Linked DNA regions of Homo sapiens: all the other regions are linked to region 1. The links are contacts of gene promoters, found by promoter capture Hi-C in human tissues and cell types (Jung and others, 2019). All regions are on one chromosome and are shown on one strand. Each heading gives the region's core, a stretch centred on a gene start or on the middle of the fragment in contact. The rest is flanking DNA. Distances are from core to core; before and after follow the strand shown. Region 1 holds the start of USP25 (ubiquitin specific peptidase 25). Region 2 overlaps BTG3 (BTG anti-proliferation factor 3). Region 3 overlaps CXADR (CXADR cell adhesion molecule). Region 4 has its middle 68 kb from the start of HSPA13. Region 5 has its middle 15 kb from the start of SAMSN1. Region 6 has its middle 140 kb from the start of SAMSN1-AS1.

Region 1 (2,987 bases), core at 284-2,783:
TTTTAGAACAGGTCTTATTCTAAAGTCAAGCACAGGTAGAATATTGCAATCTACACCAAATCTACAACAGGGTGGGGCATTCATTACTCACCCAGATAAACCAAACATAACTCTGGTGGTTGATCACAGTAAACCCTAACTGTCCCCGTAATACCAACACAACTAAGGCACGGTTTACTCTTTTGCCCAAAATGCTTTTCACGCAAATTAAAAATTAAAAAAAGAAGTTAAATCATGGCCAACTACTCTTCAGAACATGGTGCAAGCCATGATAGTGCACTTAAGATTCTGAAAGCAAAATCTAAAATAGCAGAATGATCTCTATTCACTTTAAAGATATAAAGTTTCACAAACAGTTTTTTAATTGTTTTCTTTAGTGAGTGACCATTTGAATGTGTGACTGATGCAAGAGTAAAGGGTGAACGAAAGAACAAGGTCAAACTTAGGGGACAAAAGATTCCTGGAATAACATGGCCAGAAAGGTTTCCTCTCTTAGGGACAGTTTCTATATTGAAAAAAAAAAAAAAAAAAAAAAAAACAGAAAAGAAGAAGAAGAAAGGGAAACCTTAAAAGGAAAAGAAACCAAGCAAACCACCTACTTCTAGAGTCCACCTGGTCAACACGCCTGCCCCGCGAGGCAGGTAATTCGATTTTGGTGGAGACCGTTTTGCAAAATAGCAGGCCTGGTACACTACTACCTTTGAAAGACAAAATCGGTTCAGAAAGGATGACAACTAGCTATTCTTTCTCATTTAAGGGGAGAGAATAAAGTTTCATTAAGATGCCACACAGAGCACTGTAGGAATGTGAGGGTCGCTCTCAATACCTGGCACCGTCTGCTACGGGAAAACAATCGGCAGAAGGAAGTGGATTGAAGCCCGCAAACTACACTCTGCTTCCCACACGCAGCTGGGCTCTGGGCGCGACGCCCCCGAGGCGATGGGCAGGGGCCGGGGGTGACCGGGGAGGAAGCCCGGGAAGGCGGCGGCGGCGAGGCCGGGGCGCCCGGCCGCAGCGGGAGAGGACAGCCCGTCGGAAGGAGAAGTGGGGCCCGCCGGCTGGCGGACTCGCCTCACCTTCTGCGCCGCGCTCTGCTGCAGCACGTTCTGCTCCACGGTCATGGCCCCCGCGGCGGCGGCGGCGGCGGCGGCGGTGGCGCCCGGCTCCTCGCGCCTCCGCCGGCCCTGGCTGCCGCGCTCCGCCGAGCTCCAGGGAGCGGCGCGGACGGCCTGGGAGGACAGCGCCCCCGCCAGCCAGGCGCGAAGGCGATGGCGGCCGGCGTGCGCGGGCACCGCGGGCAGGCGGCGAAACGCCGACTGTGAGGGCCACGGCGGCCGCCTCACGTCTCCACGCGGCCCGCCTCAGCGCCGCTCGTCCGCGGCGGCCCGGGCCATGAGCGGGCGGAGGACGCCGGGGCACGGGAGAGCGCGAGCCAGTCGGGCGGCGTCACGCGTTCGCACGTTCCTTTGCTGCCGGTCCGCGGGCTGCTTTGGGGAAGGGAGAGAGGGGACGGAGGGAGCGGCCGCCCGGAATGGCGTTGTCCTCCTCCCTCCGCGAGTCCTCCTCCCTCCCCTCCCCCACGCGCCATCCCCGCCCCCGCCCGGCGGCTCCTCCCCCGCAGAGCCCCGCCCGCCGGCCGCCCTAACCCTACATTGTGACCCTCCGGGCGGCGGGGCGGGGCCGCCATGGAGCCCCGCCCCTCCCTGCGCGGGCCTGGCGTTCCCGGGTGGGGCGAGGGCGCGCCTGGCTGCCTGGCCCGGGAGCCGCCCCTGCGGCAGGTTGCGCGACGCTGGCGCTGGGCTTCGGGGAGCGCGACTGGAGGCCGGAGGGCAGCGTTCCTCCCTGCGCCCAGGGCTTGTCGGATCCCTAGCTTACCCAAAGCCTCCAAAGCAAACATTTCCCTCCATGCCCATAACGTCCCAAAACTGCGTAGGGTCCCGAACTCCGGCCCCTTTCTGTGTCACGCGTTCTCTCCCCTCGCCTTTCTAGGAATTTCACAAGCCTTGAACTTGCCTGAAGGGAAAAGTCAAATAAGCAAAGGGTTGCCAGAAATCTTTATGCTGGGAAGTACTTTTCTCCTTAACTAATCATTACGTAAATGAATATAGACATTTTCTATCTACCTTCATTCATTCGAATATGTGTCAGTCACTGCTAGGCTCTGGAAAAATAAAGTTTATCTTCCCAAGACTTAATATAAATGAAATAGGATCTATCTAGCAAACAACCTTACAAAAATATCACTGCCTAATGATACATAATTCTAATATCCCAGTTGCCAAATTAAGCAAACAATTAACTACCATGCATGGAATGCTTGACTATATATGGAATTGTAAGGAAAATCTAACATTAAGAAAGCAATCTCTAGCCACAAAAATATCTCGAGTTCCAGGAGCTAATCTGGGAACGGAGGTGAGAGTGCAGCAGTGTGAGGAGAGAAATTATCAATGCATATTGTCACAAATAGAATACACTTGAAAATCCGGGTATAATTTTTAATCCAATGACAAGGAAAGCAAGCTTGGCAAATGCTAATTGAAATAGTATGTGGTGTTATTTAATAATCATGGATTATAGTAGCTCTTAAGGCTTTGTAACAGTTCTGTGCACTTTACAACCATCTTTGTTCTGCAGCTCAGATGTCTGGTACCACCTGTTGTCACCTTTTCCTTGAAGCTTCATATTTGTTGACTCATTTGATATTTAACAAATTGCAAATCTTATTATATTAATATCCTATGTCTTTTCTAGAGGAAATGAAAAGTCATGAAACGGTTGGAAACAGAAATTTAGAAATACTGTCACATCTCTAATCTCACGTATCGATTTTTTTATAACTCTGAAGCCCAAGGAGGGTGACCTGTCAAAGAGAGCTTATCAAAACCCATTTTTCTTCATTTATAGATCAAAGTTTCTTCTTTTCTTGTTTATATGCTAACTTCATGTTTCTCCATATGAGGGTTTTGGTTTTTTGGTTTGTTTGT
Region 2 (2,987 bases), core at 241-2,740, 1.9 Mb before region 1:
AATCAGAAATTTAAGAAGATGTGGCATTCTAAGCAGAGAGGTCTAAAACTGCTGATAAGAACACTTTGAATAATGTGAACCTGACGTGCCCACCTGATTTATGGGATAATCTAAAACTATTATTCCCAAATACTAAACTGGCTACATCAGAATCACCTGGGGAGCTTTGTCAAAATACCTGGCCTCTAGTTCTGAGATTTTATTATTGTTCATTAGACCAGTGCTAGGGCATGAATGTTTTGTGTTTATCTTTTTTTTTTTTTAACTTTTATTTTAGGTTTAGGGATACACATGAAGGTTTGTTCCATAGGTAAACATGTGTCACAGGGATTTGTTGTACATATTATTTCATCACCCAGGTGTGAAGCCCAGTACTCAATAGTTATCTTTTCTGCTCCTTTTCCTTCTCCCACCCTCCCCTCTCAAATAGACTCCAATGTCTATTGTTTCCTTCTTTGTGTTCATAAGTTCTTATCATTACCTCCCACTTATAAGTGAGAACATGCGGTAGTTGATTTTCTGTTTCTGCATTAGTTTGCTAAGGATAATGGCCTCCAGCTCCAATGTTTTGTATTTAAAAGCCTCCAAGTGACTCCTGGCTTAGCCAGCTGTGGAAACCACTGGACTAAAACAAGCATGTCCTTACAAGCTTCCATTCGTTCCATGTTTTGGTCTTTTTTGGTTGAAGTTGTTTAGGAAGTACTGTGTTTGAGTTTATTCATTTCTTTATGCATTCAGAAAACATTGGTCACCTGTTATACATTATACGCCTATTACACATGAGGTTTTTAATGTATTTAGACCTGACAATAGGAGTGTCACTTAGATGTGATCTCAGTGTTGTGGGTAACTTTGTTTGTCTTTAATGAGAAATCTGGAACATAGATGATGATTTTTTCCTTTGAATTAACTTAATGTGTTCTCTTCCCTACAGATTTCAGAACTTATATTTCCACCTCTTCCAATGTGGCACCCTTTGCCCAGAAAAAAGCCAGGAATGTATCGAGGGAATGGCCATCAGAATCACTATCCTCCTCCTGTTCCATTTGGTTATCCAAATCAGGGAAGAAAAAATAAACCATATCGCCCAATTCCAGTGACATGGGTACCTCCTCCTGGAATGCATTGTGACCGGAATCACTGGATTAATCCTCACATGTTAGCACCTCACTAACTTCGTTTTTGATTGTGTTGGTGTCATGTTGAGAAAAAGGTAGAATAAACCTTACTACACATTAAAAGTTAAAAGTTCTTACTAATAGTAGTGAAGTTAGATGGGCCAAACCATCAAACTTATTTTTATAGAAGTTATTGAGAATAATCTTTCTTAAAAAATATATGCACTTTAGATATTGATATAGTTTGAGAAATTTTATTAAAGTTAGTCAAGTGCCTAAGTTTTTAATATTGGACTTGAGTATTTATATATTGTGCATCAACTCTGTTGGATACGAGAACACTGTAGAAGTGGACGATTTGTTCTAGCACCTTTGAGAATTTACTTTATGGAGCGTATGTAAGTTATTTATATACAAGGAAATCTATTTTATGTCGTTGTTTAAGAGAATTGTGTGAAATCATGTAGTTGCAAATAAAAAATAGTTTGAGGCATGACAACGCGTGTTTCTGTTGTGTGCATAAAAGGGGAAAAGAACGGGTATTTCCCTTCAATGTATTTAACTAAATAGCAAAAACATTAAACAGAACGTAAGAATTTTAAAATTTCCTTTGAAAAATCAACTATTAACCATACTTTTCCTAAAAGACCACATATCAGAATATGCATATGAAAAGTTAAAAATTTGTTAGTGGTAGTTATTGAAAATATAATAAAACATCTTTTAACTATCAGTGTCACTATACATAGGGTTTTTTAACAAAGAATTTGGCTCGTACTAATTTTGACATGACATCTGACTTACATGTCTAATGCCATTGCATAAAGTAGATGTGTTCTTACAGCTGCTCTAATCTCTGTGCCTTGTGCTTTTTTTAAAAAACATTTAAGTCTTTACTAGAGGCCTAAAATAAAGTCAAATAATACAATACTTCAGATTCTTCAGTAGTCCATATTTATACAACTGTAATTCCATCAGTCTTGTAAGGGTACTTGAACTACAAAAAGAAAAAAAGAGATATCTCTATAAGAGTTTTGATTTTTCTCCAAAGGTAAATTTTTAAAAACTAAGATCAGCAATACTTTTTCCATCACCTTCATCTTTAAATTTGCAGTCTTAAATTATTTGACTTACCAGAAAAATCACAACTTGCTAATAAATCATTGAATGGCCATGGCTATTCCACAAATTATTGTTATTTTTAGGAAGATAAATTCTGTTGAAATACAAAACTGCACAAATCATAAAGGTATAGCTCAATAGTATGAAAATGTCAGTTTTTAAAGTTTGCAACTTCAGAAAACTCATTTTTAAACCTTAGAGACTTTTCTAGCTTTAATATTGTACTCTTTAAGCCATACACAATTTTAACATCTCTCTAAACCATATCTACTCTTTTCCTGAAATCTAGTGACTGCCTATTCAAACATGAGCATGTTTGTTTATTAGTGTCACAAGGGAGATGCGTTTTATCAATTTTTTTTAACCAAAGTTATTGAAAGAAAAAAAGGAAAAAAAAATTACTTTCAGAGTCATCACACTGCTTCCTTATGGGTCCTTGAGAGTTTTGTGGTGATAATGACAGATTTGTAGGTGATTGGCGTAAAGTTGGAAAGTTTCAAGTATTTTTATCATGAAGTTAGCAGACAGAATTTATTTATTGCTTTGCTTATGAGCAAATTGGTCCTCATCTGTAGGTTTTTCATCTGTATTTAACCATGTATGGAAAATACTCAAAAATTAAAAAAATACAAATTTTAAAATATAACTACATTGCATTAGGTATTATCTAGATTTAAAGGATGTACATAGGTTATATGCAAATACGAAGCCATTTTATATAAGGCACTTGAGCATCTGAGGATTTTG
Region 3 (2,987 bases), core at 364-2,863, 1.8 Mb before region 1:
CTCACTTTTGCATCATTCTCTAGGACACCTTCATCCTCTAGGTCTCCTATATCCCCTATCACTCCTTCTTACTCCCAGCTGCTTCCTCATGTACTTATTAGAAGTTCATGTTTCCCCCGCCTCACATTTCACCTTCTCTTCTAGTCCTACCTGCATTTCCTCCTTAACTTTATACAGACGCCACCTAACAGCAGTGAATTCTCAAGTCTGTATCACCAATGTCTGTCTCTTTCCTGAAATCCAGTCCTGTGTTGCAATCTTCCTATCAGATATTTTTTTACCTCCTTGCCTCTCAGGCACCTCAAATACTACCTGTCCAAACTTAAGCTCATTGTCATCTCCCTAAAACCTGCTCCTTTTTATTTCCCGTAGGTTAGTGACATCATTATACACTCAAGCCAGAAATCTCTCCAACTTTTTCATGCTACTCATTCAAGCAACCAGACATCAGGTTCCACTACTATCTTCTTCAGAAAAGCTTTCCAGATCAAAGCAGAAGCCCAACTCTCTTCTGCTGCGTTTCAACAGGGACTGCTTACGTCCAGATCATCCCAGAGGATTCCTGTGTTAGCTCTATCAGTTCTACCTTCCTTGAGAACTGCTACATAGCTACCATTCAATAAAATAAATCTCAGCGTATAACCTTACTTCTCGACACTTCCACAAATGTCTTAGTACCGTGGGGTTAGGGTGCATAACCTGACAGACCTGTCAGCTCCCACCAAGCTCTCAGTATGGCCTTTAGATCTTTGCCCACACAAAACGTGGTCAGCAGTGACATCATGTAAAACTTGTTAAAATGCAAACTCACAAGCCCCACCTAGACTTCCTTGTAAGAATCATTCAGATGCACAAAGTTTGAGAAGCACTGGTTAGGTGCCTTACATGCACTGAACTACTCAACTCCCAAGACATATCAAACCCTTCAGATCTCTATGTCTTTGCAAAAGCTGTACCATCTGACTGGAAAATTCTGCCAAAGCTTTTGCAACTTGCAATGTCATGTTCTATTGTAGGGGCACCTGGCACATGGCTTTGCACATAGTAGTATCAGTACATTAAGTATCACTTAATTAACAGGTGAGTGTACTTGGAGAGTGAAGAGTGTTAGGTATTCGAATGGAAGTTGAATAGTTACGCAGTTGGAAATAGTGGCCCAGGATCCAAAGCAGAGGTGGGTTGAGGTGCAAATATATATTTTATATATATATGTGTGTGTGTGCATGTGCGTGCGTGTGTGTGTGTGTGTATACATATAATTTATTTTGAGATGGAGTCTCGCTCTGTCACCCAGGCTGGAGTGCAGTGGCGCGATCTCAGCTCACTGAAACCTCAGCCTCCCAGCTTCAAGCAATTCTCCTGCTTCAGCCTCCTGAGTAGCTGGGATTACAGACGCACATCACCACACCTGGCTAATTTTTGTATTTTTAGTACAGACAGGGTTTCACCATGTTGGCCAGGCTGGGAGCTGAAAATATTTTTAATTCACTACCAATACTTGGGAGATTACCATGATGGATACAAGAGGTCACCCAGGTTTAAGGTCAAGATTGACTATGGGCTAAACTATAAGGAAGGCTGACATTTAAGGGACCTATTTTAGAAGACAGTAAAGCGCAGGTCAACAGGGTGGGAAAGAACCAAAATAGGTGTCAAGGAGTTCCAAAGAGATAAACCAATTTGGCACATGCATTACTGTAACCTTTGGCAACTGAAGCAGGAGAAAAAATAGAACGAGGTCAAAGATAAAGCAGAAGCTCAGCTTCTTTAGATTAAAAACTGACTCAGACATGACTAGTGGAATAATCACTGTAAGGACCATCTTTATTAGATGAGAAGGGAGAGAGTGATGAACTGAAGAGAGCTCTATCATACACACAGGCCTAGTGGCAAAGAAGTTGAAAACTTTCAGTCATGCAAAAAGGACTTGCTGAACACTAGCTGTCTGCCAGGAGCCACAAGACCATGCAGGGACTGCAACAATGAATATAGGTAATGGCCCTGTCCTCTGATCTAGTGCAGTGAGCTAAGTTGGTAATCGATGGAGACCCCACAACAGACAGGGTAAGGAGCCAATGTAGGGAGGCTTGCCTTGGAGGGGAGGCATTTTTCCTCTGATGGTGGTATAATCGCAGGAATGAAAAGATTAAGAGGGGGCATATCGGGCAGCCATCTTGCTCTTGCCGCGTGCTGGTGCTGGAGGACCCTCCCTGCTTCAGATTTACCAACAGCATGAATCAAGAAAAGTTAGCCAAACTTCAGGCTCAGGTCCGGATAGGGGGCAAGGGTACAGCTCGCAGAAAGAAGGTGGTACATAAAACAGCCATGGCTGATGACAAAAAGCTTCAGAGTTCTCTAAAAAAACTGGCTGTGAATAATATAGTTGGTATTGAAGAGATGAACATGATTAAAGATGATGGGACAGTTATTCACTTCAACAATCCCAAAGTCCAAGCTTCCCTTTCTGCTAACACCTTTGCAATTACTGGTCATGCAGAAGCCAAACCAATCACAGAAATGATACCTGGAATATTAAGTCAGCTTGGTGCTGACAGTTTAACAAGCCTTAGGAAGTTAGCTGAACAGTTCCCACGGCAAGTCTTGGACAGTAAAGCAGCAAAACCAGAAGACACTGATGAGGAGGATGATGATGTTCCCGATCTTGTAGAAAATTTTGATGAGGCATCAAAGAATGAAGCTGGCATGGTTTTTGGAAGCTGGCATGGACTAGATTGAACAAATCAGCTATGTGGTTCCAAAGTTTTACAGACACAGAGAACATCACCTGTTACTAGTTCACTAATATAAATATTTTGTATATTAATAATGCTGTTCAGCATTTTTCTGTCATTTGATTTTGCATTTTGCCTTCCTCTCAGGATATTTTTTTGGTCAAAATATGAAGTATTGGTGCAGTTTGAGGGTGTTCTGGGTTTTGATTCCTGGTTTTTTTGTTTTTGGTTTGGGGTATTTTTGGTGTATGTTTG
Region 4 (2,987 bases), core at 271-2,770, 1.3 Mb after region 1:
GAACTTTTTAATAAAAGAAAGATGTAGACATTGTAGCTTCCCAGAGGATAAAATGATCAAATGGATCTTTTTCCAAATAAATACTATTATGCTACACTTTCATGGTCAATAGTGCTACATTTGTAGGTGCCCCTCGTCTCAAAAACCAATTTGGCTTATCTGCTTTCTCCTTCTTACATACGTCTCAAAAGCTGTAACAGATTCAGGGAAATAGATGACCTAGTCACAAATGCTCACTTCTCTAGGGACTTGCCTTTAAATTGACCTTGAGCTTCACAAACCAAAAAGAGCATTTGTGTACCTCAGGACAGTATTAAATCTGAAAAAAAATTAAATAAAAAATGAGGGATAGGAGCAGATGGTCAAAGCAAATACATACTCATTCAGACAGCCAAGCCAATAGATAAGAATGCAGAGGCCCTATTAGCTGCAGATTCCTTATGGGGCATAAGCGGTTACAGGAAATGTCTGTTTAGATTAAGGTCACACAATCATCAGTCTTTTACAAGAAATTTTAAAATGTGAACTCGTTCAACTTTTTATGTGGCTTTGTGTTTCTGCTGTTTTAATTTGGAAGATTTTGTTGATATTGGGGAGAAAAAAGTAACAAACTGGGGTTCAGTCAAGTCGTATATGGGTCAAGAAACATTTTATTGTTCACTATGAATTTTAATGTACTCAGATATCACCTTGCTGCTAAGTCTTGTTCCCTTGTTCTCTGAAGAAGAAACACACACAGCTGTGTGGTAATATTAGTGGGATTATGGGCTACCAATGAATATACTGAAACCAAGATATGTGTGACTTATGACATAAATAAAAACTGTTGCTACCATGAGAGGGAAACACTCACAATTAATACTCACTGGCTTGTATAGGGCATGCCTGTTTTTAAATCTCCAACTGGCACCTACTGATGAGGGCTATTTTAAAAATTAGGGACGGAAAAGGTAAAGAGAAATCAAGGCTAAAGGTTGATTTTGCTACTCAATCTGAAATAAACATAACCAGAGTTTTTGAAAGGTAAAAACAAGATAAAATAATTATAGCTTAGAGTCTTAACTAGTACTTTCTAAGTGCTGTAGATAGTGTGGCAGGTTAAAGATGGCTATACATTTTTTGATATTTTTCCCATAGAGAGATGGAATCTAGAATTCCTCCCTCAATCTGGGTTGTATCTCTAATGGCTTTGATGAGTTGAACAGGACAAAACTGTCTCTGTGTTAGTTTCTGGACCTGGCCCCTAAAAATCTGGCAGCACCTATTTCTCTTTTCTTAAAACACTCTGTCTCAGAGTCTTGAGCTTCTGCATAAGAAATCTGATTATCCTGAGAAGGTCTGCTGGAAAGGTCACAAGTAGGACATCTGGTCAATCTTTTCAGCCTTCCAGTCATACCTACACATGCTAGATATGTGGGTAAAGCCACCTGGACCTCCCAACCAGCTCATTTGCCAGCCAAATACCACCAATGGCCAACCGATGAAACAGAAGAATGAAGGAGAAGAATTGCCCTTTTGAGATCTGCCTACATTTCTGACCCAGAAAATTGTGAGATATCATAAAATGCCTGTTACTTGAAGCCACTGAATTCTGGAGTGGATAACCAGAAAATGTAATACACAAGCTCTTTACATATCTTAACCTATTTAATCCTCCTTATCATGTAGGTAATACTATTTTTCCCATTTTAGAGATAAACTAGAAGAAATAGAAAGTCAACAAGATTAAGTAACTTCCCTCCAACTACATTGTCAGTAAAGGACAAAGCAAGGATCCAATCTTAGGCAGTCTGATGCTAGAATCTATACTCTTAGCCATGATATTTTCTCCATCAATTCTGAAATAAAGTCACCAATCTACAAATATTCATGGAGTTCTTGAAATATTGTAAAGCACTGATAGTTGTAATGTGGTAGAGGAGGCATGACCACAGATATTGGTACAGTAATCATATCTAATAAAAAAGAGGCATTCCCTGGACCTTCATTCACAATAAACTACTGTATCTTCCTTAACTTATTGCACCTCCTCTCCAGTTTTCTCTATTTCATCATTCCAATTATTTCCTCTATAACACTTAACCCTATCTGAAATTACTTCATTCATTTATTATTTAGTTGCTTATTGCCTTTCTTCCTCTTTGGAATGTAAGTTCAGTGGAGCTGGTGTGGAATGGTTTGAACATCGCCATATACTTAGTTTTACTTTATTTAATAAAAAGTTATTAACCAAATGTGCTAACATCTCATCATCTCATCCGCTTCAGGCTATGCTGTTAGCTTTAAAATACTAAAGGCATTCAGGCTGAATATTTAAATGTTGAGGCCAAGAGCACAGAAGAGATCTCCAGGGCCATTTCTTCCCTTTCCAGAGAATACATGCCATTTTTAGCTAGAGCAGATGTCCTCAACTTGAGCACAGTGGATGAGAGTCATATGGTTTATCAGCCCTTTACGTTTGTACCCAAAACATAGGTGTGTAGATTTGTGTGCCTTTATTTTGAGAGAAGAACCATAACTTTTATCATATTGTCAAAACAATCCTCAAATCAAAAAGCATAAAGTTATTTTTTAAAAAAGATTACTTCTTAACCTTTTTTTTCACTGTCATCTCCCAAGAAATAAATTTTTCATAAGGATTTAGTATGTGAGGTCTCACATACACAAAGAAAAAAATGGAAACAAAATGTCATGAAATAATATTTCCCCCAATTTCATGCACTTCACTTAAATATTTTCTATTTTATTTTTTCTACTTCATATTTGAAATGCTGGTTTTGACCTGCAAAACTGATTTCACACTCACTAGTGAAAGGCACTGTTATAGAAATAATTGAACCAGGTTTTTTTGTTGTTTGTTTGTTTTTCCAATTCTAGTATGCTTACAGATAAGATGTTAAAGTTGGTTGAAAGAAAGTATGGCATCTTGGCAGATAGGTGGAGAGATATTTTAGGGCAGATGTGAGCTTGTGAACTTTCCAGTCATA
Region 5 (2,987 bases), core at 198-2,697, 1.2 Mb after region 1:
TTTTTCACTATGACATTCCCATCACTAAATAAGGGGACCTGGCAGGATTATATTTCAAAGCATGTCTCTTTCTTTGTTCAGGTAACATTATGCAGACAGGAGAGCTCTAATATAACATGTTGGACCAAACTGAGAGAGAAGAGGGGTGATCTTTTCTGCATTCTGTTTGTCTGTTTCATAGACAGGAAAACACCGAGGAAGTTTAGTGATCAACAAGCTTTAGAAATTTTGAAAATTGGAAGAAAGGTATATCTCTCTATTTCCCATCTCTACTCCATGCTCCACATTTCAGCCAGTGCCTTTTATCTAACCACATATCTAACTGTGTCCCTCTCTTGCTTCACAATGGTTCTTCAATTGTTCCCCACCCCATGTAAATGTATACATGCTCACCTTACATTCAGCTCTACACTATTGAGCATAGTATATTGGTTTTCCAAGGCTGCCATAACAAAGTCATACAAACTGGGTGGCTTACAGCCACAGATATTATTGTCTCAGTTCTGGAGGCTAAAAGTCCAAAATCAAGGTATTGGCAGGGCCATGCTCTTTTCAAAGCCTCTAGGAGAGACTCCTTCCTTGTTTCTTCCAGCTTCTGATAGCCCTGGGCATTAGGCATTCCTTGATTCATGGTGGCATAATTCCACTTCCTGCCTCCATCTTCACATGGCCAGTCTCTCCCTGTTTGTTCTTATATGGTCATCCCTTTGTGCATGTGGGTGTCCAAGTTTCCCTCTTCTTTCAAGGACACTGGTTTTATTGGATTAAGGGTTCACCCTGCTTCATATGACCTCATCTTAACTAAACTAATTATGTTGGCAACAATCGTATTTCCAAAGAGGGTCACATTCTGAGGTGCTGGGGGTCAGGAATTCAACATATCTTTTTTGGCCATATAGTTCAACCCATAACACATGCCATCCAAATGCTTCAGAATCTGGCTGTAAACTAACACCTGTCATCTCCCTCCCATGTCTTTCTCCTTATTTATCATACACATTTGATGTAGGGAATTATTCCTCAGTTCTAGACCATATTGTATTTGCCCAACAGGTTTTCCTGCCAACTACGCAAACAGCATAAATCCACTGAAACTATGGCATTGCAGTAGAGAAGAATTTAATTGATTGAGGCCAGCCCATGCAGAAGAACTAGAGTTATCACTCTAATCAGGCTCCCCAAAGGCTTGGAGGTGGTTTTTATGGACAATTTTGTGGGCAGGGAGTTAGGGAATGGGTGCTGCTGATTGGCTGGGGAATGAAATCACAGGGTGTTGAAAATGGTCCTCGGGCACTGAGTCTGCCTCTGGATGAGGCCACATGACCAGTTGAGTCATGAGTCTGGGTGGGGCAGCGTGAAAGATACCTCAAAAAACCAATCTTAGATTCTACAATAGTGATGTTATCTACAGGAGAAATTAGGAAAGTCACAAATATTGTAACCTCTGGCTACATGACCCCTGAGCAGTAAGGAATGGTAGAAACTGTGTCTATCTTATCAGTGTTCAAGACCCTCTCATAAAAGCCTAACAATGTGGCCTTTCATTAGTTTTGCAAAGACGGTTTAGTTTTGGACTTTTAGCCTCCAATACTGAGACAATAATATCTGCTGCTATAAGCCACCCAGTTTGTATGACTTCGTTATGGCAGCCTTGGAAAACTAATATACTATGCTCAATAGCGTAGAGCTGAATGTAAGGCGAGCATGTATACATTTACATGGGGTGGGGAACCACTGAAGAACCATTGTGAAGCAAGAGAGGGACACAGTTAGATTTGTGGTTAGATAAAAGGCACTGACTAAAATGTGGAGCATGAAGTAGAGATGGGAAATAGAGAGATATACCTTTCTTCCAGTTTTCAAAATTTCTAAAGCTTGTTGATTACTAAACTTCCTCAGAGTTTTCTTGTCTATGAAACAGACAAACAGAATGCAGAAAAGATCACCCCTCTTCTCTCTCAGTTTGGTCCAAAATGTTATATTAGAGCTCTCCTGTCTGCATAATGTTACCTGAACAAAGAAAGAGACATGTTTTGAAGTTTAATCTTTGCTCTAAGATTAAACTATATACTAAATTCTTCCTAAAGTTAGCTTGGCCTACACTCAGGAATGATCAAGGACAGCTTGGAGGTCAGAAGCAAGATGGAGTCAGCTATGTCAGATTTCTTGCTGCCATAATCTTGCAAAGATGGTTTCAGTACCAAACAATTTCATGTCTCTAATATCATATACTCTGCCCATTGCTAGAATATGCCCCCCATTTTTCTTGTCCACCTGACAAATTCCTGTTTCACTAAATGTTTTCTCAAGAATTACCTTTTTAGTAAAACATTTCCTAACTTCTCCAGGCAAATTAACAATTTACCCTCTATGCTTTCACTGCTTATTACACCTCAGATTGATACAGAACATGTTACATTGGATTCTCACTCTCTGTTGATCTGCCTGTCTTCCCACTGAACTGTAAAGTCTTGGAAGGCACAGTTCATACCTTTCCGTCTTTGGACACCTGACAGAGTCCCAGGCCCATAATAGATATTTGGTAAATAATTGTTAAACAAATAAGATGAGACCACCTCCTTCCAAATCTTGCAGCATAACAAGAATGCTGGGAAGAGCCCAGAAACAATATATTATGCCTGTGGGGAATTCAAATCCCATTCATTCTTATCTCTGTCTGCCTAAAAGAGGGATTTTGAGGCCAGGCTTGGTGGCTTACACCTGTAATCCCAGCACTTTGAGAAGCAGAAATGGGAGGATAAATTGAGGCCCGGAGTTCAAGACCAGTCTGGGCAACATAGGGATAACCTTGTCTCTGCAGAAAAGAAAAAAAAAAAATTAGACAGGCATGGTGGCCAACACCTGTAGTCCTAGCAATACAGGAGGACTAGAAGGATCTCTGGAGCCCATGAGTTCAATGCTGCAGTGAGCCATGATCATGCTATTGAATTCCAGCCTGGGTGACTGAGAGAGCCCCACTCTCTGGA
Region 6 (2,987 bases), core at 339-2,838, 1.0 Mb after region 1:
TAAAACTCTTAGGAAACTTTCTATTTTGTAGCTATACAGTCAACAGAATATTCACATATGTCAGAGTCCTGGAAGCTATCTTGAAAAACAAATATAAAATTGACAGAGCTGTGAGACAGAAGTCATCAGGAACTATGATAATTTTTTGTACCCTCTCTAAGAAAATAACGACTAGCTACATGCGGATTTTTTCACATTGCAGGGAAATAGACTTCTATTTTGTTTAAGCTGTGCTACTTTTTGTTAGTATATTATATACAGTAGAAACTAATTCTATTGGATACAAAAGATAAGAAAATCAAATGGAATTTAATAACAATAGATAAAAGAGGAATTATTGGCTAAGATAAAGATAAACCAAAGAATTATTGAAAGACAGTTTGATCTGTAATGTAGAATTTGAGATATGTGTGATTTTCTAATTTTTTTTTTTTTTTTTTTTTTGAGACAGAGTCTCTCTCTTGTGGCCCAGGCTGGAGTGCAGTGACACAATCTCAGCTCATTGCAACCTCCACCTCCCAGGTTCAAGTGATTTTCCTGCCTCAGCCTCTCGAGTAGCTGGGACTACAGGTGTGTGCCATCACGCCCAGCTAATTTTTTATATTTTCAGTAGAGACGGGGTTTAACCATGTTGTCCGGGGTGGTCTCGATCTCTAGACCTCGTGATCTGGCCGTGACGGCCTCCCAAAGTGCTGGGATTACAGGCATGAGTCAGCATGCCTGGCCCTAATTCTTAATGTATTTAAATTAGAAATTGACAAACAATAAGGAAAAAACAATAAGGGAAAAAAGAAGTCTTTGAAATGTTAGAAATTGTTAAACTTTCCTAGTTGCCTTTTATATTGATTTTAATGTTTATTTTATATATATTTTTATTTTATTTAAATTATGTTTTATAATTCTAAGTAATCTTTAGATTTTATGTTAAAATTGAGTGAAGATAAATCCTCATTTTCAACGAATATCCCTAAAAACTAATAAGGGTATGTATGCATATTTTTAGTTATCATTTAAAGAATATACATTTTTTTATTTTCAGCAACTTAATTTCCACTATGTTTAACTCAGTGATGTCAGAATTCTTTTTCACTCTGACTCTAACAGATATTGACAGTCTTTAAGTTTTAAGGTGATATTAGGGATAAGAGTAATGCCAGTAAGTATTTAATCACGTTTCACTGCAATCTCTGCCTCTGAGATTGAAGCAATTCTCCTGCCTCAGCCTCCAGAGTAGCTGGGATTACAGGTGTGCACCACCATGCCCAGCTAATTTTTGTATTTTTAGTAGAGACGGGGTTGACCAGGCTGGTCTGAAACTCCTGATTTCAAGTGACCTGCCTGCCTCAGCCTCCCAAAGTGCTGAGATTACAGGCATGAGCCACCGCACCTGGCCTCAGGTTCCAGTTTAGATATAACTTCTTCCTTCCCATTCCCTGCTTACCCCTTTAGGTAACTCCTCGTATTCAATTTTAACTGCTTCTTTACCCATCAGTTCTACCTCACACTGAAACTACACCTTGTTTTCTACGTAAATCTATGCCTCCTACAGGCCTTGGTAGTAATTGTTCCTTGATAGATAATAACCAGATAACAATTAGCCAAGGCACCTGAGCATCTCTGACAGATAGTAAGCCTCCTAAGGACAGGAAACCCATTCCTAGTACCTAACACTTCAGAAGAGGCACTCCAAAAGTATTCTGGAATACATAAAGAAATGTAAGGGGAGCCAACTATGGCATCCCCATGGGGTGCTAAAACCTCAAGTCTTGTTTACATGTAACTTTAGCCGGAGTAAAATTGCTCTCTACTGTTTCAGTTTAATTCATCAAACACTTAATGAGTGCTGTGGGTTTCTTTAGAATTGCAAAGATACCTAAGACTAAGTGCTTCCTCTTGAAGCATTTAGACACTGGTATGGAAACTCCTGCAGGTGATCAACACAACAAAGTTATCCCCTAAAGGCAAAACACGTGGCCTTTTAGACGAGTGTAGTTTAAAGGGTGTTGCAGCACCCAAGATATTTATTTCAATGCTATGCCAATTATTATTGCAGACTATCCTGGGCCACTTATAGCTGTACCCTAGGAATCCTTCCTCTTTAGGAATTCCGGTAAAGCTTGGGCAGTTTTCTACCAAAATATATCTAGAGTTGATAAAAATTTAAGAAGCTGAAGTTTAGGAGCAACTTTATTTCTCCTTAGAAATCGGTTTAGGACAGAAATACCATTTGACCCAGCAATCCCATTACTGGGTATATGCCCAAAGGATTATAAATCATTCTACTATAAAGACACATGCACACATATTTTTATTGCAGCACTATTTACAATAGCAAAGACTTGGAACCAACCCAAATGCCCATCAATGATAGACTGGATAAAGAAAATGTGGCACATATACACCGTGGAATACTATGCAGCCATAAAAAAAGAATGAGTTCATGTCCTTTGCATGGACACGGATGAAGCTGGAAACCGTCATTCTCAGCAAACTATCACAAGAACCGAAAACCAAACACCACATGTTCTCACTCATAAGTGGGAGTTGTACAATGAGAACATGTGGACACAGAGAGGGAAACATCACACACTAGGGCCTGTTGAGGGGTAGGAGGCAAGGGGAGGGATAGTATTTGGACAAATACCTAATGCATGCAGGGCTTAAAACCTAGATGACGGGTTGATAGGTGCAGCAAACCACCATGGCACATGTGTACCTATGTAACAAACCTGCACGTTCTGCACATCCATCCCAGAACTTAAAGTAAAATAAAATAATATATATTAAAAAAAAAAGAGAGAGAGAGAGAAATAGGTTCAGGATTGGCCAGACTTCATTAGCATAGAAGCTCCTCCTGCTTTGGTCCATGAAGGCAAGTTATATATCATTTCATGTTGGTCAGTGGATCCATGCGAATTAATGACCATGTGCATTTGGCCATATGCTCTAAAATTTGGACACTGCCAGAGGTGCCAATAAGGATAATG

What was found. Contacts are between HindIII fragments. The study calls those that stand out against the background at their distance.
Region 2: a contact is called between a fragment that was not itself captured here and the fragment with the promoter of USP25 in region 1, in 1 of the 25 tissues and cell types used here (dorsolateral prefrontal cortex).
Region 3: a fragment that was not itself captured here is called in contact with the fragment with the promoter of USP25 in region 1 in 1 of the 25 tissues and cell types used here (dorsolateral prefrontal cortex).
Region 4: a fragment that was not itself captured here is called in contact with the fragment with the promoter of USP25 in region 1 in 1 of the 25 tissues and cell types used here (lymphoblastoid cells).
Region 5: a fragment that was not itself captured here is called in contact with the fragment with the promoter of USP25 in region 1 in 2 of the 25 tissues and cell types used here (dorsolateral prefrontal cortex and spleen).
Region 6: a fragment that was not itself captured here is called in contact with the fragment with the promoter of USP25 in region 1 in 1 of the 25 tissues and cell types used here (lymphoblastoid cells).

The regions. Positions count from the first base shown.
Region 1 is chr21:15,728,528-15,731,514 of GRCh38, reverse strand. USP25 (ubiquitin specific peptidase 25) reads right to left here and starts at 1,533. Exons shown (of 26, transcript NM_001283041.3): 1 at 1,077-1,533. The coding sequence starts at 1,121. RefSeq lists a silencer at 969-1,928. The HindIII fragment of the contact is 10,815 bases long and covers 1-2,987 here.
Region 2 is chr21:17,592,280-17,595,266 of GRCh38, reverse strand. BTG3 (BTG anti-proliferation factor 3) reads left to right here. Exons shown (of 5, transcript NM_006806.5): 5 at 935-1,614. The coding sequence ends at 1,174. It also overlaps a transcript of CXADR not described here. Among named protein-coding and RNA genes, the nearest start is that of BTG3-AS1, 18 kb to the left of the region's middle. The HindIII fragment of the contact is 4,038 bases long and covers 1-2,987 here.
Region 3 is chr21:17,518,239-17,521,225 of GRCh38, reverse strand. The region is part of intron 1 of CXADR (CXADR cell adhesion molecule); the gene reads right to left. It also overlaps the pseudogene BTF3L4P1. Among named protein-coding and RNA genes, the nearest start is that of CXADR, 6.7 kb to the right of the region's middle. The HindIII fragment of the contact is 3,232 bases long and covers 1-2,987 here.
Region 4 is chr21:14,449,541-14,452,527 of GRCh38, reverse strand. No RefSeq gene overlaps it. Among named protein-coding and RNA genes, the nearest start is that of HSPA13, 68 kb to the right of the region's middle. RefSeq lists a cis regulatory region at 247-408. The HindIII fragment of the contact is 8,805 bases long and covers 1-2,987 here.
Region 5 is chr21:14,559,518-14,562,504 of GRCh38, reverse strand. It overlaps a transcript of SAMSN1 not described here. Among named protein-coding and RNA genes, the nearest start is that of SAMSN1, 15 kb to the right of the region's middle. The HindIII fragment of the contact is 4,835 bases long and covers 1-2,987 here.
Region 6 is chr21:14,721,859-14,724,845 of GRCh38, reverse strand. No RefSeq gene overlaps it. Among named protein-coding and RNA genes, the nearest start is that of SAMSN1-AS1, 140 kb to the right of the region's middle. The HindIII fragment of the contact is 3,165 bases long and covers 6-2,987 here.